Linked DNA regions of Homo sapiens: region 2 is linked to region 1. Evidence: promoter capture Hi-C in 16 types of primary human blood cells and fetal thymus (Javierre and others, 2016). All regions are on one chromosome and are shown on one strand. The core of a region is centred on a gene start or on the middle of the fragment in contact, and the rest is flanking DNA. Distances in the headings are between cores, read along the strand shown.

Region 1 (5,572 bases), core at 1,595-4,094:
ATTCTTCCTTCTTTCCTTGCTTGATAAGCAAAAAGATTATCAAGTTACTTGTTTGATAAGCACCAAACATCTTCTGAAGTATACCAAAAACCGTGAACACTTGTAAAAGAATAACTGATTGACTCTAAGGAGAACTGGATGCCTGAGAGAAGGAGGTAGGAGAGACTTTGCCCTGTTATGGTGTTTTGTAAGGATTGAATTTTGAGCTGTATGAACGAATTACAAGTCAAAAAATAAAATACAGAAGTTATCTCCTCTCTATAACATCATCCCCCACTTCTGCCCTCAGTTAACTTTCCCTATCACCAATGAGTGGTATAGAGTCAACCTCCTCAGTATATCAGTATACTTCTCTGTAAACAGAACCCAGGCACAAGTCTATTTACAAAGCCAGTTTAATGAAACCACTATATAAACTCAGTTTGAAGAAAAAGTCCATTGAGTCTCCAAGATGGAGAAACTGTGAGCTGTGAGCCTCAACAACACCACATTCTGAGTTTAGAAATGAAAGGAAGCAGAGATATGGGATTAAAGTTAATGATAGTCTAGGATCCATTAGGGTTGTATTTTTTAGTAGCAAGAACATTCCTGGGATTTTGAAGTCAGGAAAAATATTCAGTGAATGTAAAAAAAAAAAATTCTGCATTATCAACAAATTAGCCCCAAAGTGATTAAGTGTGAGACTCCAAGTACCCCAAGAACTAAGTCTGACAGAGTTTTAAGGTTCACTGGTGTCTTTTAAGAGGCAGAGATAGACCAGGAGGGAGCAAAAGAAGGAATTAAGAATTTTCCTTTCTTCCAGAGCCTATTCTTTTCTTACTAAACACATTAACCAATTTTCTACAGAAGTGGTACTGTCAAAATTCTTCCTCATGAACTGAATCTGGGGGTTCACTAAACTGAAAAGCATCTCTGGCTAAAAATGCACCAACTGTACAACACAAAAGATTAAAATTAAAATTATGGAAAGTTGTCTTTGAAGGGATAAGGGTGAAGTGGTCTGTAAATTTAACTAAGGAAGGCAGTGGCTAACCCTCTTCTTTCTACACAAAGAACCCATCACTGATGAGTTTGCCCTTACACTGGTTAGATACCATAGCAAACTTCCTAGTACAAATAGAAAATTGATTGTAAACCAGAACATGTAGAAGTGAAAGAGACCTTGGACAGACTTCCTAAAAATACTGCCAAGGAAACTGAGACCAAGAAAATTGCCCAAAGTGACGCAGGTGATTAATGGTAGCGCTACCTCTGCTTGGTCTTGTGTTTACTTTTGCCTTTAAATATTTTAAAAGACACTGATGACCACTGATCTTGAATGGATCTCAAAGCTTTGCAAGGAGGCAGGGGGGCTTACTTAGGGAAGACTTCCTTTCTCCCATAGATTTAACTCCTTTATAAGTATAATTCATTTGTTGTGTGCATATATGACTATATTTGGAAAGAAGTAGTATTTATGGTGCTGAAGAGATATTCAGCATCATATCAAGATGATCAAGAAATATCAAGTTATGCCAAACACTGGGGCCACTCCCTACACTGAAATGTTTCCAAATTCTGTGATAAAAATCAAAGGCTCAAAAGTCAAGAAACAGATCCACTGTTTCTGCAATGTGTTTTGTGAACTCTATTTGTGCCCTGTGGGCCAGTCTCAGTGATGGATTTTCTTATCTATGAAATGGGACCAATGACCTCAACTCAGATTTACTTGGGTGTTCTCAGGCATGCATCAAAGGCATACTGCTGAAATTCTTAGCACATAAATACCACTATGTAATAGTGAGTCTGTAAAATAGTTATGAATAGGCAATAATGGAATAGTTAATAAATATGAGTATTGCAATATTCTTTTTATATGATTGTCTTTTAAGTCATCAAATTTCTGAACATCTTCTGAAACTGAAGGAATAGAAAAGGGAATTTAAATAGTATAAAATGCTATCATAATAATATGGTAACTGCGGGCATATCTATAGACATTCATACTGCCACGGTTAGTGGCATAAATTCTTATCTTTTGCTTAAGGAATAAATACATTTTTTCCTACAGTAGTGAATGCAGGACAGATTTCACCAGAATGAAATTGGATGGCATCAAGTCTATTTAATGTAACACTTTGTTAAACAGAATATTTTCCCCAAACCCAAAGCACCTAAAAGTTTAATTCAGGAGACTTTGGAAATGAGAGGAGGATTAAGAATGAAAAATACTTTAGTGGGAAGTGAACTTTTTAAAATTATTTTTAAAGAATCAAGGCCCCAACTTCTTCAGCACTTCAGGCAACGGATCACAGGTTTTTGTTTTATTGGAGAAGAAACAAAGTAAATAACAGTTCTGAGGATGAACAAAAGCTGTTGGGAATACCCATTTCACTCCTCAAAGTGGGGGCGCGTTTTATGAATAATTTCAGCCGGCTAACATACCTTCCTGCAAAACACAGACAAGATGTAAATTAAAAAGTGGCAGAGTTGTGGCATATTGCAAAAGTTTAAAGGGAGTCATCAGTCCTTCAGTCAGATCTCCCTGCAGAAAGGTTGGCGCTGAGGTTGGAACTGACCCTAGAGGGCTGGAGAGGACCCCTTGGGGGTGAGCAGCCGGGTTCTGGGACCCAGCAAGGTCAGGGGGCGTCTCCCCAGCTACTCTTTATCTATCCCCCGCACTCTGGAAAGCCCGAAGAGGATTCGCTCCAAGTTAGGCGCGCTGTTGGCTGTCAACGTTCTTTAGGACCTCAGGGAAACCGGGACGTTTCTGGCTTTAGGACCCAGGAACTCCGAGGCAGCCTAGACTTAGATGCCTTGGACCACAGCACCACCTACTTATAGAAGCATCCCAAGCCTCAGCCGGTCTGCATCTCCATCGGAAAGTGCGCTTGCCACATCCCTTCGGATCACTTCGTCCTCCCGAGAGCGTTCTGCCTTCTACAGCTCGGAAAGAAAGAAATCTTAGCTGTGAAGTGACCGTGGAGAAAGCGCAGGAAGCGACACAATTGGTTAGGGAGGCAGAGAGTGTGAGCGGGCGCACCCCTTGCCTGGGGACCGCGCTCGCGGGCGGGGACGGAGCATCCCAGTGGCTGCACCCGCCGCTCCGCGCTCCTGCCTGGCGTCGCCAACCCCGCGGCGGCCGCTGGAATTCCAGAGCTGCCAGGCGCTCCCAGCCGGTCTCGGCAAACTTTTCCCCAGCCCACGTGCTAACCAAGCGGCTCGCTTCCCGAGCCCGGGATGGAGCACCGCGCCTAGGGAGGCCGCGCCGCCCGAGACGTGCGCACGGTAGGCAACCCACACCAAGGCAGCCGCAGCTGCGGCGCTTGGGTACACCGCCGTGGACTCCAAATGGCCTAAGAGCGTTCTTTTAGCCCTGCGCTCTCAGTGCCTTTAGAGTTCTTTCCTTTCCCCGGAGCGCCGGCACAACGCATTATGCCGCTGGGTCGGAGCTTAGGGCTCGGCAGAGGTTGCTAATTCACTGATTATAATCACCTTCCTCTCCAACTCGTCCGCAGCTGCCCGCTCTGGATTAAGCCGCTCCGCGGCTCGTGCTAGGCAGTGGGTTCGCTTCCTCCTTCCCTCTCTTCTTTAAATTGGGACGTGCGAAGGCGCAGCTGCCTCCCCGGGGCTCTCTCCATCCCCCACACACCCTGTTTTCGCTTCTTGTCTCTCAGGTTCGTGGCGGAGAGATGCTGATCGCGCTGAACTGACCGGTGCGGCCCGGGGGTGAGTGGCGAGTCTCCCTCTGAGTCCTCCCCAGCAGCGCGGCCGGCGCCGGCTCTTTGGGCGAACCCTCCAGTTCCTAGACTTTGAGAGGCGTCTCTCCCCCGCCCGACCGCCCAGATGCAGTTTCGCCTTTTCTCCTTTGCCCTCATCATTCTGAACTGCATGGATTACAGCCACTGCCAAGGCAACCGATGGAGACGCAGTAAGCGAGGTGGGTCCCTCTCTGCCAAAGGTGCGTGGTGGGCTTCAGGGGTGGCGTGTGGAGGCGCTCACTCACGCCCTGGCTCCGGGGGCTCAGATGGTCAGGGCTGTGCTCTCCACCCCAGCTTTTGCGGGTCCCCAGTCCCCACCTTTAGGACCCTGGAGCTCTACAAAACACTCTGTTTTCTGTACCCTGGAGGCGCGGGGAGCCGGAGCGAGACGCGCTGGGAGCTCGGCGAGCCGGGCGCCAATCGGGCGCTCAGGGCTAAGTCGTGCGGTCCGCACTCATGTTCGCCGCCCCACCTCCTCATCTAAACTTGTCTCTTTAGGACGTATTTCTTATCTGACATGCATTTTTTTTTTGTCGTCGTTGTTCTTCTCTCTGTCCTCCTAACCATCTTCCCTGTAGCTCATTTGTTTTATCTTCCCCATCCACGTGCGCCCCAAACCCGGCCTCAGATCTCTTCGGACTTGACCTAGCATAGTGTGTGTGTGGTGTGTGGGTGTACCCAAGCGTGTGTCTGTATTCCGGAGCTTGGGAGGGGTACCAAGTCGAGGGGGAGGACCTCCCTTTCCAGAAAAAGGCCAACATAGATCTCTTTTTTCTGGAAACTGCGACGAGATGGGAACTTTCTGAATTAAGCAGCAATTCCCGCGCTGGTTTTCTGGGGAGTCCTCGCCTCCAGAGGTTTGTTTTTAAAACAGGCCCCACTTCGCTCTCTCCATTTGCTTTGCAAAAGCAGCCACACCGGTGGAGGCTTCTGTTCTCAATGAAATTCACTTGCGGCTTTTTAACTGCTCCCTCCCTCTCCATCACTTGTGCGTAGCGGAGAAGGCGGGTGGAAGCCTCCAGAAAGGTTTCGGGGAACTCGCTTTCCTGCAGATTTAGTGCGTATTTCTGTCTCGGAGTCCGCTGGAGATGCAACTAATCCAACTGCATTTTAGAAGAAGGGCGGCTAGACACGATTCAATTTTCTGGGTGGATTTAAACATAAACCACTCACCACACGCACATCGAATTACCCGCGCAGGAAGGGCGCGCAGCAGCCCCTTCCCAGGGACCTGGTGAGAGCTGTCTATTTCATTCGGCACTTTGGACTTTTGCGCAATTAGAATTTGTCGCCGGGTTCATGAATGTTGACTTTTTCTCCAAGATGTAAACATCTCACTCGATCTGTGATGTGATTTGTTTATAACTCATTGTGTGTAATCTCCGCTCCTGCATCCAGATTTTGAGGAGGACTTTCCGAACCTTATTTTTTTGATGGCTTTTTAGGACATTGTTAAGCTGTTCTCACCTAGGGGCAGAGCTAGAGATTGGCCCACCTGAGCGCAGAGCTCCAAATAACTGATGGTGTGCGACTTCTGTAGTCCCTGCGCTTCAATTGTCTCTGTATCTGCGGCTTGTAAGAATAAACCTTCTCCAACTTCTCTCCCTCCCTCTCCCCCGATTTCTGACTTTTGGAAATTGTTTATTTTCAGAAATTATTTTACTTAAAAATACTAGAGAGAAATTTCTTCCCAAAGGCCATGAGAGTTTGATATTGATACTTGTCTTGAAAAAGTCCCTTTTTATCTCCTCTCTCCTCCCCTCCTGATTCCTTTCTCAATCCCAGTACTTTCTTTCGAGTATTCGGCAGAGCCAGCAATTTTTGATTACATT
Region 2 (5,572 bases), core at 2,274-4,773, 590 kb before region 1:
TGACTTGAAATCACAAGGATACTAAATTCAGCTGGCACATTCCAATGACCCAAATGTCAAACTGGGCTCCATCCTGAGTGAGTTTCACACAGAACAAACAGCCCTTTATAGATTCAAGAGTGGCCCAGGCCGGGGACTGACAACCCCAGAAAGCAGCTGTGCTGGTCCCCACAACATAGTCCTAAGTAGGGAGACACACCAGACAATAAGAAAGATACTGAGACTGTGTCTCACAATGCCAGAAAAATAAAATCTAATCTTTCCCTGATTTCATCTACATGAAATCAAAATATTGTATTTCTGGAAACATCTGGATGATTGAGTAAATTTTTGTGCAGCTTCATCTGAATATTTGATAAAATTTAGACACAGCCTGAGGTTCCTAGACTCAAGCCATCCCCTACTGTTAGGAACAATTTTTTCTTCTTTTCCTCCCCATAAAAATGGGTTCACTCTTCTTTATTTAGTCTAACAGAAGGATCCATGTACTAGCACTGCCTTAGCTTTGCTTGGCTTCAGTTACACAAACTAACCACACTCAGTTGGACGGCAACTGCCGTAGCCGTGTGCCTGCCCGCTCCAAATTCATGAGTGGAGTTTTTCCACCCACAGTGTCAGGTACAAGATCTGAAATAAGGATTAAATTCTCTAGTACAAATAAGGGGAAAATTTAAATGAAATAATACTTGTGCTAAGCTTAAGTTATACCCAACTGCTCCCCATACAGAATAATACTAAAAGCAGGCAGGTTTTCAATTGATTAATCACTGTCATCCTGGCACTAGGCTAACTTCCTTACATATATTATCTCATTTAACACTTTACCTTTTATGGAAGGCAATATGGAATTCATCTATAGAGTAATTTATCAAATTCTTAACTGCTTGAATATATTTCTCTCTTACTTTTTTTCAATCATAGTTTGTTTTAATCTAGTTGAGCTGTTGGTCCTCCCCTCCATTTGTGGTCCCTGAGGGCTGTCAACTCCCTGTTGCCATGAAATACCAATTACATACTTCCAGACCACTAATCTCTCTCCACCCCACCAGCTTTCCTGCTCCTGACCACAGAGTGACAACATCAGCTGCACCATGCCACGGAAAACAGGACTCAACATTTTCGGAGAACCAACTCAGCTAAGAGAGCTTCCTGAGTTGTGAAAACCCTCTTAACACATCAATATTGCATGAACCTTAATGTCACCTGCTTTTCTTTTGGGCACAGGGGTCATTAGCCATGTGAACATCTTCAGTCCAACCACAAACAGAAACAGGACAGTTGCTTTTGCCCCAGGGGGCCTTCTAACCTTGGCAAGAGGGTGGTACAGCTCCATGGGCAATGTGGCAAAGTGAAAATCCTGTTGTCTTGCCACATAGAAAACCAAGATATTGTGGGAGCTTGAGCTAGTATTTAACTTTTTGGCTCTATTCTAAGCCAAATTGGAGGTGCCTTATAAAAACAGTTGGATAACTCCTAGTCAAACACTAAAGAAAATATTTCCAAGAGTGAGCACTGGCCATCACCAGTCCCTACCTATAGTTTAGGTGATGTATTTTGCAACTGCATTCAACCAAGTTTTGTATGAACCCTCATCAGGTCTCAGCGTTCTTCCCTGATTCAAAAACCACTGAGAGGACTAATGAAACTGTATTTTTCCAACTGTATACTCACTTTCAAAACATCATATCACTAAGCATAGGTATGATATTCTCAACTTCTTCTCTAGTGTGCCTTTTTATTATTAATGAGCACAATTGGTCATTCTTGGAACTTTGATTCGCTCTTATGGGGATTTTGGAGTTTAAAACAGAACATAAAGGTTTATAAATCAATTACTTTCTGATTATTTTCTTTTTTCTTTTTGTGGTTTCCTTCTTTTTCTTTAACCTAAAATTCATTGCTGGGTCCTAATATTACGGTGAACATGGGATGAAAATAGATTCTGGTAACATGTTACAAACCGCCAAATTCATCCATCTTTCATGTTTTTCTGTATCCTGACTTTCCACAAAGATGTCGTATATAACTATTTTCAAGGCTTCTTAATCTGTTTCTGAAGAGCCAGTTTTATTAAAGATCTTGTGGGGAGTTGAGAAGCAAGTAAAGAAAGTATCAAAATAAATCACTACTCTCTTCATTTGTTTTTATAATGGGGAAGTGACATCATATGGTGCATTAAGACTCAGCCACAACCACACAGCACTGCAGTATATGGGAGACTCAGTATCAAAATTCCATCGATGATCTAAAGCTCTCACATACTGTGATACACAACACATGATACTGGATTAAACTAAGACACTCCTTTCTTTCCAAAGACATTGCAGGGCAAATCATTCCCTAAGCAGGTGGTGCTTCTGACCCAATGCCTACTCAATGTTCTGAAGTAAAAATATTGAACACAGCACTAGAATTGGCTATTTGTTCATAGGGGAACTGAAACTGGAATAAATCATGTACACTTTTTATTATGAAATAAAGAAAGGACTTTTGACAGCAGATCAAATAATTTATCCAGATTCAGAGTGAACATTTTATTTATACTTCTACTATACTATGAATAGTTTTCCTGAGTACAGAAAAAAAATGAATATAAAGAAAAGGAATTAAGCCATTCATTGCCTTTTTTTTTTTTTTTTTTTTTTCACAGAATCTTACTCTGTCATCCAGGCTAGAGTGCAGTGGTGCAATCTCGGCTCACTGTAACCTCTGCCTCCCGAGTTCAAGTGATTCTCTTGCCTCAGCCTCCCCCATACCTGGGATTACAGGCATGCATCACCATGCCTGGCTAAGTTTTGTAGTTTTAGTAGAGATGGGGTTTCACCATCTTGACCAGGCTGGTCTCGAACTCCTGACCTTAGGTGATCCGCCCACCTCAGCCTCCCAAAGTGCTGGGATTACTGGCGTGAGCCACCATGCCTGGCCCCATGCACTACTTCTGAAGAATGCTGTATTCTCTCATTCTGGAGATGATTGTCACTTCCCTCTGATTTGTGACTGTCAATGATAAACTGACAATGGAAATAGTCAAGTATATAAACTTTCCTCTGCTTTCAAAAATCTTACTTAAAATCTTATTAAAATTTGAAAACAAAGCTAATATCTTATTGTTCTAATCAGAATCTGCTCAGAGTCACCAGTTATTTCCACTTACTACCAAGAATTGAAGGATATGATTTTCTTCTACTCCTTACAGCATATATGCAAATATCACCAGCCCAAATTTTCTCTGCATTTCAGCCCAGAATAGAAGGTGAAAGCTTTGGGCTCAGTAAATGTTTTAAATGACTAAAAGGGCCACTAATGATGACCTTTTCATTGTAACGTGCTCGGCAGGATAACTTGTGTGTGTCCTCCTTATATCCGCTCCTTCTTGAGCAGGCTGCAACCCCAGCCTCAGCGACTTTGGCAAAGTCTTAGGCAGAAAGAAAGAAAATAATGCTTTGAGGGTCAGGAAGTCAGGCAGAAAGGAGAAGTTACGTATTTGATAAACTGAAACATAACCTGAAAAACGAGAGAGATCTATAAGTCCCCTAAGTATTGCCTGCATATGCTCTAACAGCAACCTAAGAAAGTGGCAAGACTTCAAAGGGGGAATGGTTGAGTAGGGTGTGTAAGGAGCCAAGATCTCAGGCACCAAGATTCCCTGGTCATAAAAATCTTCTGTGCCCAAGTGCAGCACAGAAACAGCAGAACTTCAGACTAAATTACAATGTAAACTGGATTAATGTTGTAACTGCAGTTCAACTGTGGCAGACTACTGACCGATTATCTGAATAAGCTTCTCCAATGCTTTAGGACCAAGCAGAAACACAAAGTTCTGGAGGACGGGAAAAAACAGTCATACCAATGATGAAATTTGGAGTCTCAAGATTGACAAAAAAGTTTTTAATGTGATATTTTTTGTATAAATATGTTTATTTTGCTTTGATAAGAGTCAAACTTCCCCGATATATCAGGTGCTGTTAACATAACAAAAACCCAGTACCCAACTATGTATTCTTGAAAGTCAGAAAAACTGGTTTCTTTCCTTGCTTCTACCTTGGGTGTGTGCTTTGACCTTAAAATAAGTCACTGAAGTGTGCTCAGCTTCAGGTTCCTTATCCTTAAAATGGGAATAAGTGTAGCTGTCAGGCTTATCTCACAGGGCCAGTAGACACAGAATTACCAATAGTAGTAGTAGTACCAGAGTTAGAGCTGGTGCTATTGTTGCTGTTGTGGCTTATTTTGTTATGACATGTCATGAAAATGGTATAACTTCCCTAATAACATTAACCAATGACTATTATTAATACAATAACTGATAAACAACATAGTTTCTCTAGCTGGAAAAGGTAAATGTTGCAGATAATATAAATGTGCCTTTATATATTAACTTATGTTTTGATAAATGTATTAAGCCATAACTAGAAATCAGCTTTGAGGTTATATTTCTAAAAGAGGGATAATTATAAAAAGCTCTTTGAAAAATCACTTATTAAATTTATGAACATACTGAGGAGATGGCTGGTTGATTTTTTATCCTGTGAGTAATATTCAAATATGGGTAGTTTGCCTTTTAAAGGACATTCCAATAACCAAATTTTAGTGGCAAACTGATTTGAAATAGAGCATGGTATCTTAGCCAAGCAATATTTTTGCTTTAAGTCAGGGAAACAAGAGCTGTAGAACCAGGAAATGTGGAGGAGCATGGAAAATATTTAATCAAGAGTTATTCCACTACAGGAAAATCACTGGTGTCCATAAAATGAAGCAGATGACAGCATTGTTCTGCTTCTTAGTATTATGGGAGGAGGTACTAGGCGTTCAATTTCGTTCATTTAAAGAGGGGAAAGAACAGAGAGCAGAATGCTGAAATCTGGCAGGGGATGGGGCTGGGAGGGTGTAGGTAGGCAGTAGGGAGAGGTGTGGAATCTACATAACATTCCAAAGATGAATTAGAGCTAGGAATTCTACTTTTATAAACTATGCAGACAAAGGAGAAATGATGAATGAGACCATTAAAAAATATCTAAGGGATCTGAATTTTACCAGTCTATAATTTGCAAAACCTTGAAATTCCCTTTATCATAACTATATTATCATGGAAAATCCTGAAGTCAGTAAGTAGTTCCTACTACCCAACTAATAAGTTACCTATTACAACAATAATCCAGAAATCTATATTTAAATGTAGCAGTGAAACGCTTCCATTATCTTTGGAGTTTTTATTTCCTATTAGTGAAAAAGAGTGACTCATCAAAAATTACTCAGTAACTGATGATCATTCTAATTAAAATCTAAAGGTAGCATTTGTATTGTTTAATTCACATGCATTATCATATGACGGGAAAATACATCATTTTACTATAATATTCTATCTTGACCAAAAACACTTAACAATCTTATGTTCATTTTTTCTGCTTCCCTGAGATATTGGTCAGTCTTATGTGCCTACTCACAAAAGTGGAATAACCACTTGTTACACAACTGGGACTCATACTCAGCATACCAGGACAAGAGTCTGTTTTTAATCTAGATCAACGAGATTACAGCCACTGTGACCCTGGCCACTTCGAAAAGCACATAGATT

What was found. Contacts are between HindIII fragments. The CHiCAGO score rates a contact against its expected background, and 5 or more counts as called.
Region 2: a contact is called between a fragment that was not itself captured here and the fragment with the promoter of RSPO2 in region 1, in 1 of 17 cell types (M0 macrophages). The highest score is 6.2, in M0 macrophages.

What each region holds. Positions count from the first base shown.
Region 1 is chr8:108,080,892-108,086,463 of GRCh38, reverse strand. RSPO2 (R-spondin 2) reads left to right here and starts at 2,844. Exons shown (of 6, transcript NM_178565.5): 1 at 2,844-3,267; 2 at 3,657-3,919. The coding sequence starts at 3,826. RefSeq lists silencers at 3,813-3,988, 4,529-4,823 and an enhancer at 3,705-4,651. The HindIII fragment of the contact is 4,613 bases long and covers 1,334-5,572 here.
Region 2 is chr8:108,667,109-108,672,680 of GRCh38, reverse strand. It overlaps a transcript of TMEM74 not described here and the pseudogene LOC124902049. Among named protein-coding and RNA genes, the nearest start is that of TMEM74, 120 kb to the left of the region's middle. The HindIII fragment of the contact is 521 bases long and covers 3,263-3,783 here.